Linked DNA regions of Homo sapiens: region 2 is linked to region 1. The links are contacts of gene promoters, found by promoter capture Hi-C in blood cells and fetal thymus (Javierre and others, 2016). All regions are on one chromosome and are shown on one strand. Each heading gives the region's core, a stretch centred on a gene start or on the middle of the fragment in contact. The rest is flanking DNA. Distances are from core to core; before and after follow the strand shown.

The links. The method cuts DNA at HindIII sites, captures the fragments that hold promoters and counts their contacts. A CHiCAGO score of 5 or more calls a contact.
Region 2: a fragment that was not itself captured here is called in contact with the fragment with the promoter of PHLDB3 in region 1 in 2 of 17 cell types (non-activated CD4 T cells and total CD4 T cells); the score reaches 5.6 in non-activated CD4 T cells.

What each region holds. Positions count from the first base shown.
Region 1 is chr19:43,500,442-43,507,413 of GRCh38, reverse strand. PHLDB3 (pleckstrin homology like domain family B member 3) reads left to right here and starts at 2,668. Exons shown (of 16, transcript NM_198850.4): 1 at 2,668-2,825; 2 at 3,282-3,508; 3 at 5,131-5,313; 4 at 5,543-5,680. The coding sequence starts at 3,296. ETHE1 (ETHE1 persulfide dioxygenase) reads left to right here. Exons shown (of 7, transcript NM_014297.5): 7 at 512-695. The coding sequence ends at 564. RefSeq lists silencers at 2,472-2,531, 3,132-3,381 and an enhancer at 3,010-3,532. The HindIII fragment of the contact is 22,316 bases long and covers 1-6,972 here.
Region 2 is chr19:43,408,344-43,414,393 of GRCh38, reverse strand. It overlaps a transcript of TEX101 not described here. Among named protein-coding and RNA genes, the nearest start is that of TEX101, 3.5 kb to the left of the region's middle. RefSeq lists a silencer at 1,117-1,303. The HindIII fragment of the contact is 751 bases long and covers 1,655-2,405 here.

The DNA.
Region 1 (6,972 bases), core at 1,419-3,918:
GAGGGACTGGGGGAGGAGGAGCTGGGGGCCTGGACTCCTGGGTCTGAGGGAGGAGGGACTGGGGACCTGGGCTCCTGGGTCTGAGGGAGGAGGGGCTGGGGGCCTGGACTCCTGGGTCTGAGGGAGGAGGGGCTGGGGGTCTGAACTCCTGAGTCTGAGGGAGGAGGGGCTGGGGGACTGGACTCCTGGGTCTGAGGGAGGAGGGGCTGGGGGACTGGACTCCTGGGTCTGAGGAAGGAAGGGCTGGGGGACTGGACTCCTGGGTCTGAGGGAGGAGGGGCTGGGGGTCTGGGCTCCTGGGTCTGAGGGAAGAGGGGCTGGGGGTCTGGACTCCTGGGTCTGAGGGAGGAGGGGCTGGGGTACTGGACTCCTGGGTCTGAGGGAAGGAGTGGGCTCAGGACCAAAACTCTAGTTTCCTGAAGAGGAAAGGTTCCTAGGATTTCTGGGTCTCCAGTGGGGCCTGGAACTCTACCTAGGCCCCTTAGTTTTAACCTTGATTTCTTCCTTTCAGACTTTGCTGTTCCAGCCAACATGCGCTGTGGGGTGCAGACACCCACTGCCTGATCTCACTTCTGTCAGATGCTCCCATCCACTATTAATGCACTAGGTGGGAGGAGAGGGCGGCAATGACACTGCACCTCTCCTTTCCCACCGCATTCCCTGGAGCTCCCTAAATAAAACTTTTTTTAACGTGAGTCTGACTTCTACCTATTTTCTGGGGGAACCAATTGGGTTTCTGGGCCGAAAGGGGTGGGGTTCTGGTCCTATGGAGAGGCCAGGGAGCCTGCAAGATTTGTTTTCTTTTTCTTTTCTTTTTTTTTTTGAGATGGAGTCTCCCTCCATTGCCCAGGCTGGAGTGCAGTGGCACGATCTCGGCTCACTGCAACCTCTGCCTCCCGGGTTCAAGCGATTCTCCTGCATCAGCTTCCCAAGTAGCTGGGACTACAGGCGCGTGCCACCATGCCCGGCTAATTTTTTCATATTTTTAGTAGAGACAGGGTTTGACCATGTTAGCCAATATGATCTTGATCTCCTGACCTCGTGATCCACCAGCCTCGGCCTCCCAAAGTGCTGGGATTACAGGTGTGAGCCACCGCGCCCAGCCCGGGAGCCCACAAGATTTCTAACTCACAAGATCAAAAACAAACACAGCTATCTGGGGCAGGTCTTCTCATCACCTTGGATTAGAACACCGGCTTGCTTTTGAGCCACTTCCCACTTAGCCCTGGGGTAAGTTACTTCACTTCTCTAGGCCTCAGTTTTCTTATCTCTAAAATGGAAGGAATAATAATGGGGTGTTGTGATGCTCTGATGAGTCAATGTGTGTGAGTGCCTGGCACATGGCCTATCAGTGTTCACCATTAAAGTTACTATCATTTAGAATGATCTTTTGGGTACTTCCTGGCTTGTAGTGACAGTATACGCAATGGTTAAGAACATGGACTTTTGAGAGAATGAAGCCTGCATTTTACCACTTACAACATGTGTAGATGTTGGCTACATTTTTTTTTTTTTTTCTGAGATGGGGTCTTACTCTGTCGCCCAGGCTGGAGTGCAGTGGCACATTCAAGACTCACTGCAGCCTCGACCTCCTGGGCTCGAGATATCCTCCTGCCTCAGCCTCTGGAGTAGCTGAGATGACAGGTGTGTGCCACCACGCCTGGCATAATTTTTGTATTTTTAGTAGAGATGGGGTTTCTCCATGTTGCCCAGGCTGGCCTTGAACTCCTGATCTCAAGCAATCCACCTGCCTCGGCTTCCCAAAGTGCTGGGATTACAGGCCTGAGCCTCTGTGCCCAGCCAACCTTGGGTGCATTTGTCCTCCTCAGCTTGTATCCCCAAGTGTAAAATGGAGATAGTAGGCCAGGAGCGGTGGCTCACGCCTGTAATCTCAACACTTTGGGAGGCTGAGGCAGGCAGGTTGTTTGAGCCCAGGAGTTCAAGATCAGCCTGGGCAACCTGGAGAAACCCAGTCTCTACTAAAAAAAAAGAAATGGAGGTAGTAATCACTTTCTCGCTGGACAGCTTTGAGGGTGAAATTAAATGACTGGGTATAAAGTGTTTCACACAGCTCTTGACTTCTAATCATCCCTTTTCATATACCAGTTATTTTCCTGTTTTCATTTTCCTGTTTTCGCCCAGAGAGGAAAGGGTCTGGCTGAGACCTTTAACCTCTGCCCTCCACCCCATAGCAAAGTTGTGGGGGGGTGGCGGTACACTTCCCTCAGTCTCTGGGCAGGTGTCTGACTCAGTTCAGGGCACCCCTTCCCCTTGTCCAGCTCCCCAAACCGGTCAGGGCCCTTCTGAAGGGCTCATTAGAGGGGAGACGTCCCCATCTCCATTCCTGCCTTCCTTTCTGAACTCCCAAGGTCTGGACATTAGAGAGGCTCCCATACAGAGGTGGCCAAGACTCCTCCAGGGGGGCAGGAATGAGGGGCTCGAGGGAGACTGGGAGGTCGCGATGCTGAGTTCCACGAGGGTGGGGCCGGGCCGGGGCCGGTGGGGCCGGGATGGCCGGATGCCGAGGCCACGGGTGGGGCAAGCCCGTGGCTCCCTCCTCCCTCGGGAGCTGTTGGACCTGTTGTCCCCCCTCCACTTCCGGGCTGCTGGGGAGGGGGACCGGGCGGCCTCTCTCCTCCCTCTTCCCCTGCCACCTGTCTCATAGGCAGAAGCGGCCGTGCCCAGCGCGCAGAGCGGAGCGCGCCGAAGCCTGAGCTCGTGAGGGGGCCGAGGCTGTGGGGAGGTGGCAGTTGGACTTCGGAATCTCAAGGACTCCGACTCCTGGCTTGTTCAGAGAAGGAGAGCCCCGACTCCTGGATCCCTGGGTGAGGCGGCGTGGGCACGGTTGCCCTGCACAGTGGGGTCGGGACTAAGACTACGGGGCTCCGGGAAGGATGGGGCGGGAGCCGAACTGCTGAGTCTCGGAGGGAGAAGATGGGTCGCTCTAAGCGAATCCAAGAGATTGTAGGGGGCTGCTGGGAGGGTACAAGGCCTGACACCTAGAGATGAGGGAGGGGAGGCGGGGTCGAAGAGGTCAGTAGGGGGCGTGCTACGACCCGGACTCAAATTCCGGTCCCGTCTCCGGTGGCGTGTCGCCTTGGAGCCATCAAGCCCCGCCTCTGGAAACTTCAGGACACGCCTCCGTAACGCTCAGTTCCATCCTTTGAACTCTTAGGCCCCGCCTCCTTGGGGGGGGGTCTCCGCGCCCCGGAGCAGACGCGAGCGGCGCTCAGCCGTCCTAGGCCCCGCCCCCGGAGCTTCTGGTCCCGCCCACCCCGCAGGAGTCCCAGCGGCCATGGGGACGCGAAGCAGCCCCGAGGAGGGGACCCCGCCGCCGCTGGTCCCGGAATGCGACGTGGAGGTCCAGCCCCAGGGCCATCCCGAGGAGTCCCGGGAACAGGAGGCATCCGAAGTCCTGGCGGAACCTTCGAGCCGCGGGGGAGCTGAGCAGCAGGCAGAGGAAGAAGAAGTGGGAGAAGGCAGCAGCACTGAGAGCAGCCGCGACGCGGTGAGGGGCCCGAGGGCGACAGCGCGGGGGGCTTGGACCGACGGGGACCCAAACAGGTGGCCAGACAGGTAGACAGGTAGAGGGAAACCAGAAAGACAGAGACCCGGAGACAGGGAGAGAGACCGAGTGATAGCAGAGACTACTGAGAGAGAGATACACCAGGACACGGAGCCAGAGAGGCAGAGGCACAGACAGACAGAAACCAGATACAGAGACAGAAACCAGATAGAGCCACGGGGAGGCCCCAAGAACGGAGATAGACCCAAACGGGCGACAGAGACAGAGAGACTAGTATAGAGGAACCAGATAGGTGGCTCACGCCTGTAATCCCAGCACTTGGGGAGGCCGAGGGGAGGATTGCTTAAGCCCAGGAGTTCGAGACAAGTCTGGGCAACATAGCAAATCCCTGTCTCTAGAGAAAAAAAAAATACAAAAATTGTCCAAGCGCAGTGCCGCGTGCCTGTAATCCCAGCTACTCGGGAGGCTGAGGCAGGAGGATCGCTTGAGCCCAGGAGTTGTAGGCTGCGGTGAACTATGACTGCGCCACTGCACCCCAGCCTGGGACAAAGCAGAACCTATCTCTAAAAATGAGAGAGAGAGAGAGAGAGAGAGAGAGAGAGAGAGACCAGATAGACAGACAGGAGAGACTACAGAACAGAGAGAACCAAACGAGTAAGAGATGCAGAGAGATCAAGAAGCCAGACAGAGACCCAGAGACATGGAGACTGAGAGACAAAGACCCCAAAAAGACAGAGACACAGTGAGACTAGAGTCAGAGAGAGGGGAATCGAGACAGAGGGAAACCCAGAAATAAATGGCAGAGATGCTCAGAGAAACAAATAGACAAAAACCTCGAGAGAGGGACATACTCCGAGGAAGAAAGATCTAGTGATTCTAGTGGACAGATCTAGTGGACAGATACCGAATCTGAGAGACTGGGGTCAGGTGGAGAGACAGAGACAGATCCAGGCACTACAAGAAAGTGACGCCAAGAGAATAGGACCTGATAGAGAAAAAGAAACACCTTTCATAAGTCGGCTTTACACCTGCTCACCCTCCATACGGTACTGCAAGCCTCTGTGGTCCGTGTGGTTGGGTGGTCACGGGACTTGCACCCTCCCCCACTCCGACCTTAAATACAGGGGTCTGAGGCCGGGCGCGGTGGCTTATGCCTGTAATCGTAGCACTTTGGGAGGCCGAGGTGGGAGAATCCCTTGAGCCTAGGAGTTTGAGACCAGCCTGGGCAACATAGCATCGCCCCCTCTCTGCCAAAAAAAAAAAAAAAAAAAAAGAGCTTGGCGTGGCGGTGCGCGCCTGTAGTCACAGCTACCTAGGAGGATGAGGCAGAAGAATCGCTTGAGCGAGGGAGGTCGATGCTGCAGTGAGCCGTAATCGCGCCACTGCACTCCAGCCAGTGAGACCCTATCTCAGGACAAAAAAAAAAAAAAGATAAGAAAGAAAAAGAAAAGAGCCTGCGACAGATTATGGGAGTGGTGGTTGTGTTAGGTAAGTGGACTGATGGACTGAGACCCGCAGAGGGTGATGTTGGGTGGGGACCAGACCTACTTAGTGATTGCAGGGGGCGAGGCATCTCCACTTAACCACGCCCCCCTCAACTTCAGCCCGAGGCTACGCCTCCGATAGCTATGGCGGCCACACCTCCCGCATCCACCTCTTCGCGGGAAGGGGTGCGAGGGGCGGCGCGGCGCCTGCAAGGACAGCAGCTGGAGGCATTGACTCGTGTGGCCCTGATGGAGCAGCGAGTGAAGGAGCTACAGCGCCAGAGGAAGGAGCTGAGGATCGAGGTGAGGCTGCGGACCCCTTGGGAAGCCTGGCCCCAACTCAAGCGGAACCCGCAAAGCCGGACTCCCAGCTTTTTCCTCGGGTGGGATCAGATTTTAGGCCCTCCGCTCTTCCTCCCTCCAAATTCAGGTCCCTGGAGTCCATCCTCCCTTCGAATCCGGTAGTTCAGGCCCTGGGCCTCTTCCTTGGACCTAGGCGTCCGAGCCCCCAGCCCTGGCATTCTCTCCGCAGATGGAGGTGGAGGTGGCCTTGCTGCGGGGTGAGCTGGCTGGGGAGCGAGTGGCCGCTCGCCGGGAGGAGGAGCAGCTGCGGGAGCTGCTGGAGCAGCAGGCGGCCTCGGAGCAGCGCGGCCGCCAGCAGCGGGAACAGGTCTGTTTGGCTCACCGGGTCTTCATCAGCAGTGTCCTTCCTGGTCCATGGATGTTGGTGTGCTCCTAGCCACCTGCGCCCCGGGGTTGTCCCCATTCCCCAAAGGAAGACATTTGGGCTCCTGAGAGAGTGAGGGGCAGATGCCCCTCCTGGTTTTCCTTCTCCCTCCCTGGGCGAGATTTTTGGGGCTCTTCCTTTGTCCCCTGTCCGTTTGCTATTTAAATGTGGGTGTGTAAAAACTTCCAAACTGGCCGGAAGCAGTGGCTCACGCCTGTAATCATAGCACTTTGGGAGGCCGAGGCGGGCGGATTGCCTGAGCTCAGGAGTTTGAGACCAGCCTGGGCAACATGGCGAAACCCCGTCTCTGCTTAAAAATACAAAAATTAGCAGGGCGTGGTGGCGGGCGCCTGTAGTCCCAGCTACTTGGGAGGCTGAGGCAGGAGAATCGCTTGAATCCGGGAGATGGAGGTTGCAGTGAGCCAAGATCGCACCATTGCACTCCAGCAGCCTGCGTGACAAGAAGGAGACTCCGTCTCAAAAAAAAAAAAAAAAAAAAAAGAGAAAAAGAAAACTTCCAAACCCACCCCACAATAGTCAGGCAGCTCCCATGTCCTGTGCCCACCAGCTTCATCAATGATTAATATTCTTACATTCTTGTTTCATTATCTCCAATTTGTTCTCGTCCCCAGTTTTAAAAGCCAATCCCAGACATCATATGGTCTGTACATATGTTTAGAGTGTATCATTGACAGATAAGAAATCCTTTTAGGCTGGGCCAAGTGGCTCACACCTGTAATCCCAGTACTTGCGGGGTGGGGGGGGGGTACGGGGGGCGGGGCAAAGTGGGAGGATCGCTTGAGGCCAAGACTATGAGACCAGCCTGGCAATATTATAATAAGACACCGTTTCTGTGAAAAATAAAAATACAAAAATTAACCAGGCATGGTGGCATGTGCCTGTGGCCTCAGACTCAGAAGAGTGAGGTGGGAGGATCAATTGAGCCCAGAAGGTAGAGGCTGCAGTGAGCTGTGATTATAACATTGCACTCCAACCTGGGCGATAGAGCAAGACCCTGTCTCAAAAATAAAAAATTAATAAGTTCTTAGTATTGTCTTATTTCTGGTTAGTTTTTGTGTTTCCCAGACAGTCTCAAAATGCCAGTTAACAGGTGGCTTGTTTGAATGAAGTCCCCAAAGTTCAGTGTGATTGGCTGATACGTCTTGCCCATTGTTTTATCTCTGGTGGTTCCTACCCGCTGTGTCTTCCCCATACTGTTTATTGGAAAAATCCAG
Region 2 (6,050 bases), core at 781-3,280, 92 kb after region 1:
CGCTATCGCACCAGCCTCCTCATGGTCTCCTGGAGGGTTGAATCTAGGAATGCCCCCCTCAGCATCACTTTGGGCACCCCGAATGCATGCATGAGCAGTAGCTATGATGGCACAGGCTGCTGTCAGATCGAACCCACGCGTCCGTGTCAGGACCATGAAGAAGACATGTCACTCGGATTTGTTGCTCATGGCTGGCAGTTCACTTTCACATCTATGTAACCTTCCCTTCCCTCCCCTCCCCTCCCTTCCCCTCCCCTTCCCTTCCCTTTTTGACAGACTTTTGCTCTTTTTGCCCAGGCTGGAGTGCAATGGCACAATCTTGGCTCCCTGCAACCTCCTCCTCCTGGGTTCAAGTGATTCTCCTACCACAGCCTCCCAGGTAGCTGGGATTACAGGCATAAGCTACCATGCCTGGCTAATTTTTTGTATTTTTTTTTTGGAGACAGAGCCTCTCTCTATCCCCCAGGCTGGAGTGCAGTGACGTGATCTCAGCTCACTGCAACCTCCCTCTCCCAGGTTCAAGCGATTCTCATGCCTCAGTCTCCCCTGAGCAGCTAGGATTACAGGCACCTGCCACCACACCTGGCTAATTTTTGTATTTTTAGTAGAGACGGGGTTTCGCCGTGTTGACCAGGCTGGTCTTGAACTCCTAACCTCAGGTGATCTGCCCACCTCGGCCTCCCAGAGTACTGGGATTACAGACGTGAGCCACCACCCCTGGCCTATGTAAGCTTTCCAGGTGTGACATGAAGTTGTAGCAGGATGAGCTGCAGACAAAACTCCTCAGATACTGGATTAAAGAAGGAAGAGGTTTATTTGGCCGGGAGCCTCAGCAGACTTGCGTCTTAAGAGCCGAGCTCCCTGAAAAATAAATTCTTGGCCTTTTTTTTTTTTTTTGGAGTCTCCCTCTGTTGCCCAGGCTGGAGTGCAGTGGTGCAATCTCGGCTCACTGCAAGCTCTGCCTCCCGACTTCATGCCATTCTCCTGCCTCCGCCTCCCGAGTAGCTGGGACTACAGTCACCCACCACCACACCCGGCTAATTTTTTTGTATTTTTAGTAGAGATGGGGTTTCACTGTGTTAGCCAGGATGGTCTCGATCTCCTGACCTCGTGATCCGCCCGCCCCCCAAAGTGCTGGGATTACAGGCATGAGCCACCACGCCTGGCCAATTCTTGGCCTTTTTAAAGGCTTACAACTTCGAGGGGTCCACATGAAAGGGTCGTGATAAATCGAGCAAGCGTGGGAAACGTGACTGGGGGCTACATGCATCAGGTAACAGAACAGAAAGTTTTGCAATGCTTTTTCATATAATGTCTGGAACTTACAGATAACACAAGTAGTTTAGGTCAGGGGTTGCTGTTATTATTATTACTTTTTTTAACTCCTAGGGCTGGGTGGTGGTGCCAAGGTTGACTGGCTATTTATCTTACTTCTGTTTCTTTCCAACTTTTTGCTTTCTCTCTTTCCTCCTGTCTTGTGAACTAGGCAAGGTCGGGGGAGGAGGGCAGCAGGAGTAGTAGTGGTCTCCTTCCTTAAAGTAAGGCAACGCTTTGTATACTTTCAGAATTGGTACTGATTCTGTAAGTTATAGTATAAATGAGTATTTATTTTTAATAGAGAAAATGCCACAATAAGAAAGGGATTGGTAAAGCTTCAATCCCTTTGTTATCTTTGAACTGTTATCTTTGAATGATCACATGTCAAAGGATCCAGGAAGAATGTGTGCCAGTTTTCAGCCCCCGTCTGTCCCCCGAGGGCTCGTGCTTGGGAAAGCAGTCACCTTGTTGAGTCACTCTCCAGGTGACTTGGTCGCAGAATCCCTCCATCTCACACCTAGAAGAGACCTTGGAAGCCTAAGCACCCTCCACCTCTATTCTTCACCCCATTTCTGCTTCAACAGCTCCAGGGACCTCCTCTTGCTCCGTGACATAGTTTGGATATTTGTCCCCCGCCCAAATCTCATGTTGAAATGTAATTCCCAGTGTTGGAGATGCGACCTGGTGGAAGGTGTTTGGGTTATGGGGGCAGATCCTTCATGACTTGGTGCTGTCCTTGCAATGATGAGTGAGTCCTTGCCAGATCTGGTTGTTTAAGTGTGTGGCACCTCCCCTTCTTACTCTCTCTCGCTCCCCTTCTCTGGCCTGCATCCTTTTGCCATAAGTAAAAGCTCTCTGAGGCCTCCCCAGAAGGAGATGCTGGCACCACGCTTCCTGTACAGCTGCAGAACCTTGAGCCAATCAAACCTCTTTTCTTATAAATTACTTCTAGTCTCAGGTATTTCTTTATAGCAGTGCAAGAACACCCCAATACACAGCCCCTTGAGAAAGGTGGCTTTGCCTTTTTGGTGCAAGAGAGATTGACAGATCTTCCTTAGCCTGAGCCAATTTCTGTTCCTCTCCAAGCTTCAGTGTCCTCATCTAGAAAATGAAGAGGTTAGGCTGGGTGCAGTGGCTCAAGCCCATAATCCCAGCACTTTGGGAGGCCAAGGTGGGTGGTTCACCTGAGGTCAGGAGTTTGAGACCAGCCTGACCTTCACCAACACGGTGAAACCCTGTCTCTGCTAAAAATACAAAAATTAGCCAGGCCTGGTGGCACGCGCCTGTAATCCCAGCTACTTGGGAGGCTGAGGCAGGAGAATCACTTGAACCTGGGAGGCGGAGGTTGCAGTGAGCTGAGACTGCACCATTGCACTCCAGCCTGGGCAACAAGAGCAAAACTTGGTCTTGGTCTCAAAAAAAAAGAAAAAAAAGAAAAAAAAGAAAATGAGGAGGTTAGTCTAGAGCAATGGTTGGCAAATAGTTTATGAATCCATGGAACGTTTGTAAAAAAGAAAAAAGCTCAATGGCTAATATACAGTGAAGGCATCTTTTTATATAAGCACTTGTGACACCACCATTGGTCACTGGATTATTGCAGTACGCCCTGCCCTTGCCCATGTGGCTATTTCCCACCTGGCACCAGAGCGATCTCTTAATTGCAAGCCACACCACATTACTCCTGTTTAAAACTTTCTAATGGGCCAGGCACGGTGGCTCAGGCCTGTAATCCCAGCACTTTGGGAGGCCGAGGTGGTGGATCACCTGAGATCAGGAGTTCGAGACCAGCCTGGCCAACATGGTGAAACCCTGTCTCCACTAAAAATGAAAAAATTAGCTGGGCGTGGTGGTGCGCCCCTGTAATCCCAGCTACTCTGGATGCTGCAGCGAGAGAATCATTTGAACCTGGGAGGTGGAGGCTGCAGTGAGTCAAGATTGTGCTACTGCACTGCAGCCTGGGTGACAGAGCAAGACTCTGTTTCAAAAAAACCAAAACCTTCCAGTGGATTCTCATTTTACCTCAAGTAAGATTCTAGGCTGGGTGCCATGGCTCATGCCTGTAATCCCAACACTTTGGGAGGCTGAGGTGGGAGGATCGCTGGAGCCCAGGAGGTGGAGGTTGCAGTTGCAGTGAGCCGAGATAACGCCACTGTACTCCAGCTTTTGCTCTGGTGACAGAGCAAGACCCTGTCTCAAAAAAAAATTTTTTTTTTGTACTTTATAGTATAATTGGCTATGTGTGTTCATGTGTGACTGTGAGTGCATGCATGTTTGTGTGTGCACATGTCTGTATATATGTATGTCTGTGTGTATCTGTGTGCTGTGTGTGAATGTGTGTCTGATGTGTGTGTCTCGGTGTACATGTCAGTGTGCATGTGTGCATGGGCATGTGTGTATCTGGTTCCTTCCAGCTGTGTCTGATCCATCTCTGTGTACTCAGCATATGATTACAGTGTAGGTAAGTAAACATTTGCTGGATTAAAGAATGTCTCTTAGATCCAGAAATGAGAAACACACAACAGTGAGCCACCACATACCTCAGGCCCTCCGTATTCCATCCTCAGAATTTTTTCCATGCTTCCTGTATTCCTGGGGGAAAATTCCAACCTCCCACACTGGTCTTGGAGACCAGCCCCCATGCCTCACCCTTATCATTCCCTGTCTAATATCTATTCCCAGGACATCCCTAGTCTCTTCCAGCCTCTTTGGCTTTGCTCACACTGGTCCCTCTGCATGGGAGACCTCTCCCTAATCCGCTTCCCCCATGCATTTGTTTACCCCACAAACTCCTAATTGTCCTTCAAAGCCCATTCCTCCAATGCCCACAGCCCTCAGTGAAGCCGGCATAAGCATCGTGCAGCTCCCTTTTTGAGTGCTCCAGTTCTCCTACCAACAGGCCTATGCACACACCCAGTTCCCTCTCAAACCAACAGGCTTTTCCTTCCTACTTGTAAAGGATTGAGATCTTCTGCAAACCTTACAAAACAATGAGTTGTAAGCCTTGAGGTTAAACCACCAGTTTTACTTATTTTTTTTTTGAGACAGGATCTCTCTCAATCTTGTCCAGGCTGGAGTACAGTGGTGCAATCACAGCTCACTGCAGCCTCAAACTCCTGGGCTCAAACAATCCTCCCACTTCAGCCTCTTGGGTGGGAGTACAGGAACATGTCACCATGCCAGCTAATTATTTTACTATTAAACCCCAAGCCACAGAATGTCTTTTTGAAGACTGCTAATTACTAATCATAGAGGAAACACTCGCCTTGCTTACACTCACATTTGTTTCTCCTTTTCTTTTTTTTCCACAGAGATGGAGTCTTGCTCTGTCACCCAGAGCTGGAGTGCAATGGTGCAATCTTGGCTCACTGCAACCTTCGCCTCCCAGGTTCAAGCAATTCTCCTGCTTCAGTCTCTTTTACCTTCTGTTTTGAATTCTATTTTCTTTCTTTCTTTTTTTTTTTTTACTAGTACTTCAACTTTCTTGTGCTTACTGTTTGCATGGTATATCTTTTTCAATACTCACACTTTCAATAATGCTTTTCCCTATATGTAAAATATTTCCCTTGTAGACAGTATATATGGGTATTGCTTTTTTATGCAATTTGACCAATCTGTACCCCTTAATTGAAATGTTTGGCCTGTTAACATTGTTAGGTCTAAAGCTGCCTCCCTACTACTTTAAGTTTGGTCTAATGGTTTCTCCATACATAGTGAACTGTAACCTAACTTGATGTGTAAACAGTCTGTAACCTGCTATAGTAAAAATAGCTGAGTCTCAGCCAATCACAGGTACCCAACTAACTGTTCAAACCTGGTTCAAATAAGGCAAGCACCCAACTGTTAGCAGTCCAGCTATTTCAGTGCCTTCCTTAGTTTCTTCTACATCACTTTCTTCTGCGGTAGATGTTATCCAACCATTTATGGACGGAACACCCTGAAGTTTCTCTGAACCTACTCTGGGTCTGGGGGCTACCTGATTAATGCATCATTCATTACTCAATTAAACTGTGTTAAATTTAACGTGTCTGAAGTTTTTCCTTTAGTCAGCCAATTAATCTAATTATTGATTTGACTGCATGTAAATCTACGCTTCAACTTGTGAGTTGGAAGTAGAATGAGGTCACAGTTTCAGGTAGCACCAGGCCTCCACGGGTTCATGAGAATTTCCAGGTGTCCAGGGGTGGGATCAGGCCACAGTATCAGATGGCAGCATCGGTGCTTGAGAAGTTTCCCATGTGACCTTAGGGATCCCAGGATGATGCCCCATAGTCCAGGGATCTTGGGGATGGGAAGAGTCTGGTCTGACTCACTGTGAGGCCTCGCTGAAGCTGTCTTTCTCTGATAGTGCAGCCCTCCCTGAATCCAGGGCTGGAGTGACCTCGATCTGCACAGATCTCTCCAAAAAGAACAAAGACCAAGGTCTCTGGTGCAGGCCCTTCTGGGAGAGGGCACTTCTCACGGTGGGCGTCACGGGTGGTTGTGGCCCTGGTTCTAGAGGGTGGTGTGGCTCCAGAACGCACGCACAGCACTAAAACATCCCTGTCCACCCCCAACTCGCCATTTATTTATTTATTTATTTTTAAGAGGAGGAGGCGTGCAAGGGCGGTGACCGGCCGGACCCTCTTCTCCTCCCCGCCTACCGGCCCACGGCTCAGATGGCCACAGGCGAGGCCGCCGCCACCGCTACCTCCTGGCCCACAGCCACCCCTCGAATAGGGGCCACCGGGCCACCC